4 separate regions of the Homo sapiens genome follow, and regions 2, 3 and 4 are each linked to region 1. The links are contacts of gene promoters, found by promoter capture Hi-C in blood cells and fetal thymus (Javierre and others, 2016). All regions are on one chromosome and are shown on one strand. The core of a region is centred on a gene start or on the middle of the fragment in contact, and the rest is flanking DNA. Distances in the headings are between cores, read along the strand shown.

Evidence for each region. Contacts are between HindIII fragments. The CHiCAGO score rates a contact against its expected background, and 5 or more counts as called.
Region 2: a contact is called between a fragment that was not itself captured here and the fragment with the promoter of TRH in region 1, in 4 of 17 cell types (non-activated CD4 T cells, naive CD4 T cells, megakaryocytes and 1 more). The highest score is 6.0, in non-activated CD4 T cells.
Region 3: a contact is called between the fragment with the promoter of H1-8 here and the fragment with the promoter of TRH in region 1, in 2 of 17 cell types (non-activated CD4 T cells and neutrophils). The highest score is 5.7, in non-activated CD4 T cells.
Region 4: a fragment that was not itself captured here is called in contact with the fragment with the promoter of TRH in region 1 in 6 of 17 cell types (erythroblasts, M0 macrophages, activated CD4 T cells and 3 more); the score reaches 6.2 in erythroblasts.

The regions. Positions count from the first base shown.
Region 1 is chr3:129,973,221-129,975,991 of GRCh38, forward strand. It overlaps TRH (thyrotropin releasing hormone), which reads left to right and starts at 1,500. Exons shown (of 3, transcript NM_007117.5): 1 at 1,500-1,603; 2 at 2,589-2,771. The coding sequence starts at 2,597. It also overlaps the pseudogene LOC124906284. The HindIII fragment of the contact is 1,305 bases long and covers 721-2,025 here.
Region 2 is chr3:129,624,180-129,627,099 of GRCh38, forward strand. No RefSeq gene overlaps it. Among named protein-coding and RNA genes, the nearest start is that of PLXND1, 19 kb to the left of the region's middle. RefSeq lists enhancers at 1-114, 767-1,376 and a silencer at 2,629-2,920. The HindIII fragment of the contact is 4,995 bases long and covers 1-2,920 here.
Region 3 is chr3:129,541,842-129,544,545 of GRCh38, forward strand. H1-8 (H1.8 linker histone) reads left to right here and starts at 1,334. Exons shown (of 5, transcript NM_153833.3): 1 at 1,334-1,465. The coding sequence starts at 1,378. RefSeq lists an enhancer at 873-1,374. The HindIII fragment of the contact is 913 bases long and covers 1,157-2,069 here.
Region 4 is chr3:129,643,368-129,646,300 of GRCh38, forward strand. No RefSeq gene overlaps it. Among named protein-coding and RNA genes, the nearest start is that of PLXND1, 38 kb to the left of the region's middle. The HindIII fragment of the contact is 3,721 bases long and covers 1-2,933 here.

The DNA of each region.
Region 1 (2,771 bases), core at 250-2,749:
CTTTGGGAGGCCAAGGAGGAGGATTGCTAGAGTCTAGGAGTTCGAGACCAGCCTGGGCAGCATAAGAAGACTCCATCTCTACAAGAAATAATAATAAAAAATAGCCATAAAAATTATGGTGCCTGGCTGTAGTCCCAGCTACTTCGGAGGCTGAGGTGGGAGGATCCCTTGAACTGGGGAGGTCAAGGCTACAGTGAGGTCAGATTGCACCACTGCACTCCAGCCTGGGTGACAGAATGAGACCCTGTTTTAAAAAAAAAGTTTCAAGATGGAGGCAGTCCCCAGGGCTAGATGTGGCAGTCCCACATCTGGGACTTTGGGAACTGACTCGGGGGGCAAGCTCCTTGGCACCCATGTGTTTCTCCTCCCTGCTTCCCCTCCCCTCCTTTGCTAGAGTTGGGTGAACTCCAATAGATTCCTGTGCAGGGGCTGCAGACTCGAATGTCCCTCCTCAGTGACAGGGGCAACACATTGGAAGACATTAGGGAGTGGTGGAGACTGTGGTGGCCGAGAGCAGCCAGGCTCAGCTCCACCTGGCTGTTGACAGGAGGAAATGGGGGCCCATTCTTTTTCAAGAGAAGCCATAAATCCAAAATTTTCTAAGTTATCTTGGTTTTAAAATGTTGGTTATTCAGATTTTTTTCAAAACACTGTGGAAGTCAATCAAAATTGTCCATGAACTGGTTGTAGCCTACAGGCCGCCACTTTTGGAATTCTGAAAGCTTTCCTCTGGCTCCTATTACACAGAGGAGAAAACTGAGGCCCAGAGAAACGGAGGCACTAGCCAGGAATGACACAGTTAAGATTAGCACCCTGGAGCCTGCGGGGTGGCTCACGCCTGTAATCCCAGAGACGCAGGAGTCTGAGGCAGGAGGATGACTTGAGCCCAGGAGTTCAAGGCTGCAGTGAGCCGTGATCGCGCCACCGCACTCCAGTCTGGGGGACAAAGCGAGATCCCATCTCTTTAAAAAAAAAAAAAAAAAAAGTAGAGCTCCGCTCCCACTTGCCCCCCATTCTCTCTCTCTCTCTCTTTCTCTCTCTCTCTCTCTTGCTCTACTCTCGCCCGTCTGCGTTCTACATTGGTTCTGCGGCCGTGTCCCTTTCGTGTGTGTCTGCCCTGTGTTTCTCCGTCGTCTCCGTGTGGATCTCGGTCTTTGTCTCGCCCTCTAGCTCTCTCGTGCGCCTGTGTTTAATCGTGCGCTTCTCTCAATCTCTCTGTCCCTCCCTTTGCCCCCTACACGCGTGTTCTCGTCAACAGATCTCCAGAGGTGGTGCAGAAACGACCCCGCGCCGGCGCCCCATCCTGCGGCCAGTGCCTCCGCGCCCCGGCTCCGGTCCCCACCGTCCCCGCCCCAGATTTCCGGAGGAGCAGGCGGGCGGGGTCCCGCGGGGCCGGCTGCCGTCAGCGCCCCTTCCCGGCGGCCGCGACCCCTCCCCGCTGACCTCACTCGAGCCGCCGCCTGGCGCAGATATAAGCGGCGGCCCATCTGAAGAGGGCTCGGCAGGCGCCCGGGGTCCTCAGCGCTGCAGACTCCTGACCTGCCGACTGCGGATCCCGAGTCCCCGGATCCCGGACCCATCCTGTGGAGCCCACTCCTGGCAGGTAACCGCCCCAACCCCTCTCCTTCCGCAGACGGTGTCCGGGAGCACTGGAAAGGGAGCCCTCTCGGCCCGCCCTCACCTTCGGTTCTCTGAGAGCTTCCTGGAGAACAGGGCCGGTGCACAGGCGGGCGCTGTGCTCGCACCCCCGGGTCCTCCCCGAGCGCAGGCCGGGGACCCGACGGGAGGCACGGCGCGGGCACATCGGAGGCTCTCGCTGCTGGGCACTCAGGTCGCCAGAGTCCGCAGCGCGGGGTGGGAGCTCCGCGGCACCCCCTGCCTGGGTGCCGCCGGACAGAGCTGGGTATTCAGGGCGTCGGCCTGAGAACCTGGGAGTTCGAATCCCAATCTCAACGCTAGAAATAGAATTTTAGCGTTGAAGTTAGGATTTTAGCGTTAGAATCAGATTCCTGGCTTAGTCATGAAAGCTTAGCATTAGAAATAGAATCTTAGCTTTGCAAATAGACTTTGAGCTTTAGAACCTGAATCTTAGCGATAGAAATGGGATCTTCGCGTTGGAATGAGGACGTCGGCCACGGAGCTTGGAGTTAGAACGTGGCGATGGGGACCTTTGGGGGAGTCTTGGCGGGGACGCAACCGTTAGCGTCGCGGCTGTGCCTGGCGCTGCAATCTCAATGGTTGCACTCCCGGCGAGGCAGTCCCAGCGTTGGCTTCCCCAGTTCCGCGTCACATTGAAGGGTGGCGGTGGCGCTGGCGATGGGGTTCCTACGGCCTCCTGCCTTGCGCAAGCAGAACTGGGCGCAGGCACTACAGGCACCCGTGGGGGCGAGGACGCCTAGAGGTGACAGGTGTGGACGCAGAGCCGGGGCGAACCCGCCGCTGCTCCCGCCCCTGCACGAGGGGCAGTGGTCCTGCTTCTGGGAGGGCGGTTGAACTGTGCGTGGTTTGTTTCTGGCGGGCGTCGGGGGAGATGGAGCGGGATGTGCTGTGATTCGGTGCGCTCAGGCTCCCTCTGTCCCCTAACCCAGACGCCGCGATGCCCGGCCCTTGGTTGCTGCTCGCTCTGGCTTTGACCCTGAACCTGACCGGTGTCCCCGGCGGCCGTGCTCAGCCAGAGGCGGCCCAGCAGGAGGCAGTGACGGCCGCGGAGCATCCGGGCCTGGATGACTTCCTGCGCCAGGTGGAGCGCCTCCTCTTCCTCCGGGAAAACA
Region 2 (2,920 bases), core at 73-2,572, 350 kb before region 1:
GCTCACGCCTGTGATCCTAGCACTTTGGGAGGCTGATGCAGGAGGATCGCTTGAGCCCAGGAGTTCGAGACCAGCCTAGGCAACACAGTGAGACCCCCCCCACCCGCCCCGCCATCTCTACAAAAAGTTAGCTGGGCATGGAGGCTGCTGCCCGTAGTCTCAGCTACTTAGAGGACCGAGGTGGGAAGATGGCTTGAGCCCAGGAGGTCAAGGCTGCAGTGAGCTGTGGCTGTACCACTTGCACCCTCCAGAACTGAGAGGAAATAGGTTTCTGTTGTTGAGCGATCCAGTCTGTGGCCTCTTGTTACGGCAGCCTAGCAAGCAAACCTCCCCCTGGCCCCGTGACCTCTCCCGCTGTTCTGGAGGCTGCAAGGCCAAGTCCAAGACCAAGGAGTCTGCAGGGTTGGTGTCTGCTGCAGCCTCTCTCCTTGGCTTGCAGATGGTGCCTTCTGGCTGTGTCCTCACATGATCTTCCCTCACTTCCTGCATATCTGAATCCTCAGCTCCACTTCTTTATTTTTTTTTTTTTGAGACAGGGTCTGACTCTGTCACCCAGGCTGGAGTGCAGTGTTGCGATCTCAGCTCACTGCAGCCTCGACTTCCTAGGCTCAAGCCATCCTCCAACCTCAGCCTCCTGAGTAGCTGGGACCCCTGGCAGAGGCACCATCGAGGCTTCCCTTTGGCTCTCCGCTCCAGCAGCACTGGCCTCCTCACTGAGCTTGGTCCAGGACGGTGCTTTTGCTGTGCCTTCTGCCTGTCATGCCCTTTCCAGATCTCCCCAGGGCTGCCGCCTTCTTATCCCTCAGGTTTCTGCTCAAATATCCCCCTCCAAAGAGGCCCTCCCTGACCAAAGTGCCAATCAGGGCTAGTATCCATCTCTCTCACTGGATGGACCTTCACCAGGGCAGGGGATATGTCTCCAGGGCCACAGCAGGGCCCGGCACACAGTAGGTGCACAGTAAAGGTTTGCTGAAGGCAGTCAGGCTCACCTTGGTACTGCCACCCCATCTCCCAAAACACAGGGTCACAGGGTCTCAGAGGCAGAGCAGGGCCTCCAGGGGGGCCCGTGGATGTGGGTGGTCCAACCATGAGGACTGCCTACCTGCTGGGGGCACAGGCTGCAGCCACCCATCCCCTCGGCTTCCCACGCAGCACCTGTGTTCACCGCCCCCTTCCCCATCTGTCTTCCAGTGATTCCTCCAGAGGCTGCTTGTTTGGGAAGAAGGCTAGATGGCTAAGCAGGTAGGACCAGGTGGAAACACAGCCCATCACTTTGGACTTGGGGACTCTGCCAGTGCCTCCCTGCTCCAGTGTCTGAGGAGGACTTGAGCATAGGAAGGTGCGTGCCTGCTCAGTCCTGGGACTCGTGGGGTGGAGCATTCACCTGGGGACTCGTGGGGTAGAGCTGGGGCTGGGACCACTGCCTGCACCTCCATCTGGGAGCAGGATGAGGGAAGGGCAGGAAACCACTGGGAGGCGCTGGGTGGGAGTTCGCTCTTTGCTCAGTCAACCCTGTCTTGAGACAGCCCTACTCCCACTTGAAAGGCTGAGACAGAAAAGACTGACACCACCAAGTGTGGGTGAGGATGTGGAGCCACAGGGGCAGGGGTGAAATGTGAAATGGTGCAGCCACTCTGTAAAACCTTTTGCTAGTTTCTTCAAAAAAAGTCAAATGTGGCTGGACGCGGTGGCTCACGCCTGTAATCCCAGCACTTTGGGAGGCCGAGGCGGGCGGATCACGAGGTCAGGAGATAGAGACCAGCCTGGCTAACACGGTGAAACCCTGTGTCTACTAAAAATACAAAAAAAATTAGCCGGGCGCGGTGGCAGGCGCCTGTAATCCCAGCTACTCAGGAGGCTGAGGCAGGAGAATGGCATGAACCCGGGAGGCGGAGCTTGCAGTGAGCCGAGATTGCGCCACTGCACTCCTGGGACAGACAGAGTGAGACTGTCTCAAAAAAAAAAAAAAAAAAAAAAGTCAAATGTAGACACGTGCATCCTGGCAATCCCACGTCTAGATATTGGAATAAAATTAAAACACAGGTCCATAAAAACCTGTACAGATGCTTGTCACAGCTCCATTGATAATTTCTGCAATCTGGAAACAAGCCAAGTGTCCCTGGGCTGGTGAAGAGGTAAACACATGGAGGCCTCCATACAATGGAACGAAAAGGAACAGCCTCTTGATACTCCGACACAAGGATGCATCTCCAAGCCAGGCTGGAAAGGCTCCACGCTGCAGGATCCCATGTACATGCTGTTTGGAAAAGGCCAGGCCACAGGACGGGACACAGATGGGTAGTTGCCAGGGCTAGGGCTGGGGCTGGGGGGAGGGACTGACTGGGAAGGGCCACCAGGGAATTTTCTGGTTGCTGGGAATGTTCCATGTCTTGTTCAGAGCATTTACAGGGTATAAACGTGCAAAGTTTACCAGACTTCACATTTGAGATCTGAGGCCACTTCTCCTGATGTAAATTATAACTCAATGAATAAAAGTTTTTAAAAACAACCCAGTTCCATACTCGCCAGCCTGTGCCAGGTTCTTAGCCTGGGGACAGAGCTGGGGCGGGGCGGGTCCCTGCTTTCTGACCGGCAGGGGTGGGAGGGGCCCAGGCTGGGGTGCTGCGAAGGCAACCCAGGGAGGGCGCCCGAGCCCCGCCCAGGCCAGGCCCCAGGCTCTCCCGTGCTCCCGCCCCGCAGAGAGAGGCCGGAAGCGGCCCCGGAGGGCCCATTGTCCGCGCTTCCGTTCCGGCTCCGCCTCGTCCTCCCGCGGCCAGAGGTGCGACCTCTGAGCCCCTGGCCAGCTCCCAGCCGGCCTAGGGGGGCGGGGGCACGGGGCGGAGGTCCCGCAGCCCGTGCTCGTCCCGCCTCGCTTGGAGGGAGCAAGGGCTCCGAGCCCTGGGCCCAGGTCCTGTGCCTC
Region 3 (2,704 bases), core at 84-2,583, 430 kb before region 1:
CCCAGCTAATTTTTGTATTTTTTGGTAGAGACAGGATTTCACTTTTTTGCCTAGGCTGGTCTTGAACTCCTGGGCTCAAGCGATCCTCCTGCCTCAGCCTCCCGAAGTTCTGGGATTACAGGTATGAGCCACCATGCCTGGCCTCTCATCCTTGTTTTAATCCATCTTGTCATTTTATATTATATTATATTATTTTATTTTATTTTTATTTACTTATTTTTGAGACACAGTTTCGCTCTTGTTGCCCAGGCTGGAGTGCAATGGCTCGATCCTGGTTCACTGCAGTCTCCAGCTCCCAGGTTCAAGTGATTCTCCTGCCTCAGCCTCCCAAGTAGCTGGGACTACAGGTGCACACCACCACGCCCAGCTAATTTTGTATTTTTAGTAGAGATGAAGTTTTACCATGTTGGCCAGGCTGGTCTCAAACTCCTGACCTCAGGTGATCCGCCCACCTCAGCCTCCCAAAGTGCTAGGATTACAGGCCTGAGCCACCGCACCAGCCCACCTTGTCATTTTAGATGGCTGCAGAATATTCTGCAGAAAGGGTGTGATTTAGCCAGGCCTTGGGTGTTTGCTTGGAAAGTTTTTTTTTTTTGTCTGTCAATTTGATGGGAAAAAGTAGTATTTCACCATTGTTTCAATTTGAATTTTCTCAAATGCCAAGGAAGTTGAGTGTCCATTTTCCTGTTTCTGTTCCTCACCCTTTAGGCTGGTGAATTGCCTGTTTATATTCTTTGTCCATTGTCCCAGTGGATGTTGTCCTTATCTATGAAGACTTTTGTGAAGCATCCTCCGTTATTGATTTATTTCTTTAAAAACAAAACCAAAGGAGGGCATAGGCCCAGAGAGCCTGGCTGGCCTCAGAAGGGGCTACTCTGATTGAGGGGCATGTGCTCTGGGCAAAAGTAGCAGTTGGGCTGCCTCCAACTGCTACTTTTTGAGAAATTGAGGCCAGCAGTGGCGTGGGGCAGCCCATTGCCCACCTGGTAGGATTAGAGGGCCGCCTCAGCGGCCTCCCTGACAACACAGGTGACCCCAATTCCTCATCAGCATCTCCAGCCCCTGGTGGGCAGAGGGCACAGGCGAGATCAAGCATCTCAGCTCCCAACATTGCACCATGGGGACTGAGACCCAGAGAAGTCAAGCGACACCCCCAAGCTTACACAGGAGTGGGTAGTCCAGCTGGGGCTCCCTACAGAAGGCAGGATGCTGTGCCCCATTCCACACCTCCAGCCCCAGTCAGCAGCTTGGAGCACTCCCAGCCCAATCAGGGCTGATTGGAGTGGTGGGGGTGGGCTGCTGGTATATAAGCCTAGTGGGCAGGCCCAGCAGCCTCACACCCGGGTGAGGGGTCTGCTGGCTGCACCTGTCGGTCTCATGGCTCCTGGGAGCGTCACCAGCGACATCTCACCCTCCTCGACTTCCACAGCAGGATCATCCAGGTCTCCTGAATCTGAAAAGCCAGGTGAGCAAGAGGAGGCAGCTCCTCCCTCATCCCTGCGAGCCCACTCCCTGGGTTGCCTTTGATGCTCCACCCCTGCTTCTCGTTCTTTCCCAGCCTGGCCCCAGCACCTACCCAGCACCCACCCAGCACTCACCCAGCACTCACCCAGCACCCACCCAGCACCAAGCTGCTGAGCTCAACTGCCTTTTGGCTGAAGAGCTGATCTACAGGTAGCAAGGCCAGGTAGGGCCTGGGGGCTGGGGCCGGCCTCGCTCAGGGAAGAGCCACAGGGCCTTCCAGCTGGAGCCCGTTTCCTGCTGGGACCGTAGCCCGTAGCCAGGCTGCAGCTGTGGGCAGCTAGTTGGAGGGACTGGGGCAGGAGCATTTTATGCAGGGCTAGGCATTCCGATTTTCAACCAAAAAACACCTCAGGGTTTATCTGGACATGAGGGTGCACCGAGGCAAACCAGGCCCAGTTCACTCCCTCGAGGACCTCCCGGTCTGATGGGGAAGCCTGGCCCATGGCTTGTTGCTGTTTGCTAATGTGATGTGTGCTTCAGTGGCGGTAATCCAGAGCTGGAGGAGCCCAGAGGAGTCCTCTAACCCACTCTGGGAGGTCAGGGAAAGCTTCCTAGAAGAGGTGACCCTGAAGGATGGGTGTGCCTCAGCCGGGGGAAGTGTTCTATTTGCCAAGACACCTAGGGAGATAGGGAGGGGGTCCAGGTGCCGAGAAGTAAAAGGGCAGAGTTAACTGGGAAGTCAGAGGTGTCCAAACCAAGGTGCATTTTGAGCCTTGAAGGATGAGTGAGAGCAGCCTGCATGACCGGGAGGAGAGAGGCAGCCCAGGCAGAGGAAACGGCATGGGCTAAGGCCCAGAGGCCAGCGCACCAGCAGCTTGTCTCGGAAGCTGCATCTTCCTTCTGGGAAGGAGGGAAGTGCTGGGGCAGTGCTAGGGGAGCAGTGGGAGGGCCTCCAAGGCGGTCTTCAGTTAGGTCAACTTTTATCTTGAACAGGGAGCCATGGACGGTTTCAAGCAGGGAGGTGAGGGGTGTGAGATACAGCGAGGAGAATGCATGCGGTGGGGAAGAGGCAGTGGGGAGGAGGCTGGGGCTGGGGAGTTGGAGAGGAGAGGCCAGAATATGGAGAGAAAAGCCTATGGGGAGGCCTCGAGTGGGTGTGGTGAGGAGGAAAGGGCCCAGAATGCCCCCAGTTCTTGCTTGGATGTTGGGTAGGTATGGGCAGTGGGGGCATGGGGCATTC
Region 4 (2,933 bases), core at 91-2,590, 330 kb before region 1:
AAACCAACTTAAGAGCCAGGGCTGGCTGAGGATAGCCCAAATTCTGGCTACTGGGCTCTTCGTTGGTAAGAATGGGAGATGTGCTATATTCTGAAGAGAGTTAGATGAGTGACACAGGTGCCTGTCCTCTAGGAATTCTCAGTCTACTAATAATCAAGATCATGGTATAGCACTTTCTCTTGCCAGATGCTGGGCTAGGCTCTGTACAATTTTCATTTAATCCTCATAACCTTCACAACCTTCTGTTAAGGTAAAGTGGTTATTAAAATTCTTAAAAGAGGCCAGGCGCGGTGGTTCATGCCTATAATCCCAGCACTTTGGGAGGCTGAGGTGGGTGGATCACCTGAGGTCAGGAGTTCGAGACCAGCGACCAGCCTGGCCAACATGGTGAAACCCCGTCTCTACTAAAAAATACAAAAAATTAGCTCGGTGTGGTGGCACAGGCCTATAATCCCAGCTACTTGGGAGGCTGAGGCAGGAGAATCACTTGAACCTGGGAGATGGAGGTTGCAGTGAGCCAAGATCGTGCCACTGCACTCCAGCCTGGGCGACAGAGCAAGACTCTGTCAAAATAAAATGAGATGAAATAAAATAAAATAAAATACTTAAAATAAAAACTTTAGACAAGTTAAATTTAACAAAGAATGATTCATGAATTGGGCAGCCCCTAAGACCAGGACAGGTCAGTGAGAGTCTGGGGCTGCCATATGGCTAAGTAACATTTATGGACAGAAAAAGGCAAGTGGTGTATAAAAAATTGAAGTGAGGTATGCAGACCTCACTTATTCTTGTTAAACTTATTCTGGGCTTGTACCTTATTTCAACAGTTGGCTGCCTGTGGTTGACTGAAGTTCGGCTGCTGTGATTGGCGGAGACTTGGCTACTCGTTACAAGAGTAGGTTCCAATCTGCTTATGCCTGGCTAGGTTACAGTTCCCTATGTATGGAGAAACCTTTAGGCCAAACTTAAGATATGTACAGAAGCAGCTTTAGGCAAAATTTAACATAATTCATTTTCATCATGATTTGTTGCACCTTTTAATACAGTCTCGAAAACTATTGAACTGAATTCTTTCAACAGATAAAGAATATTCTCTTGAACAGCTTAAACATTCAGTAAGACAGAAGCATGAATAAATTTTGTCAAGTACTCTTGCTCTGGGATTTAAGGATTGTAATACCAAAGGTGACAGGGATTTTTTTTTTTTTTTTGAGATGGAGTCTTGCTCTGTCGCTAGGCTGGAGTGCAGTGGCGTGATCTCGGCTCACTGCAACCTCCGCCTCCCAGGTTCAAGCAATTCTCCTGCCTCAGCCTCCCAAGTAGCTGGGACTACAGGTGAGTGCCACCACGCCCAGCTAATTTTTGTACTTTTAGTAGTGACGGGGTTTCACCATGTTGGCCAGAATGGTCTCCATCTCTTGACCTCGTGATCCGCCTGCCTCGGCCTCCCAAAGTGCTGGGATTACAGGCGTGAGCCACAGCGCCTGGCCCAGGGATTTTTTTTTTTTAAAAGAACTGAACTCTGAGTTGCCTACACCCTTTTTCCACTTATCAAAAAACTGTGAAGAGCCTCTACTTACAGGATCAATAGGCAAAAGACCAAATACCTTGGACACCATTCCTCAAACACCCAACTGATTGGGATGACCTGAAAAACAGGTTTCTGGTTTCTTCTCAAAGGGCTGTAATTAAACAGAAGGCTGGGTCACCTTTCAACACCTGTAATGGCTTCTCTTGTAGTCACAAGGTAAACCTTTAGCGTGGTATTCAAGATTTCTTGCAACTTGGCCCCCACATATGATTCTCACACATTCTTTCAGGCACCCTACCAGTCACTTAAGGCTCCTTATCCATTGCTTGAACTGCTCACCTAGGCCGTTTTCACCTCTGTGGTTTTGCTAATACCTCCAATAGAAATGCCCCCTCACCTATTTCTGCTCATCATAAAGCCACCATCTTTCAGTCCAGATACCATGGCCTCCTCCGTTGAGCCTTTCCCTATTGCTCTGTTAGAATTGCTTCCTCCTCTTTGCTCCCACACGTCTTCTGCCTCTTTACCACATGTATTTCATTCTACTAAGTTCCTTTTTCCACAGCCCAGTCTTGTATAGAGTGGCTCTTAAGTGCTGCTGGCTAAATAGGAGGTACCAGCTGCTGCTGTCACCTCTGCACGTGCTCCTCCTTCTCAGCCCGCAGGGCTTCTGGCAGCGGGACATCTATGTGACCCCCAAGCCTAGAAATCCAGGGCTGGAAGAAAGCTCAAGGGGTGGCCCAAACTTGGTCTAGAGCCCCCTCTAAGGCAATCTGGAGGCAAAAGATGGTCTAGTATGATCTGTCATTAGGAACACTATCAATTCTTTTTTCACTTCTCACTGGACCTATTTTTAAGTTTTTGATATATTTAATTTAAAAAATACACAAATACATTTTCTTCAAAGAGATTCATACTTTATAGAAGCCAAGCATGAAAGTGCTGCTTAACCACTGTTCCTCCCTCTCCCTTCCCAAAATAACGGGAAAGTTTAATGCAAAGTTTTTACACATCCACATGCATATATTTACACAAATATACATATTCTCAACATAAATGGGAGACAATATATTGTTCCACAGTTGGCTTTTTAAATCTTAATGCACTGATTATACAGGAGGCTGAACAATTTTCTGGTATGCTTATTGGTCATTTTTCTTTTCTTTTTTTTTTTTTGAGACAGAGTCTCGCTCTGTCGCCCTGGCTGCTGGAGTGCAGCGACACCATCTCGGCTCACTGCAAGCTCCGCTTCCTGGGTTCACGCCATTCTCCTGCCTCAGCCTCCCGAGTAGCTGGGACTACAGGCGCCTACCACCATGCCCGGCTAATTTTTTTGTCTTTTTAGTAGAGACGGGGTTTCACCATGTTAGCCAGGATGGTCTCGATCTCCTGACCTCGTGAT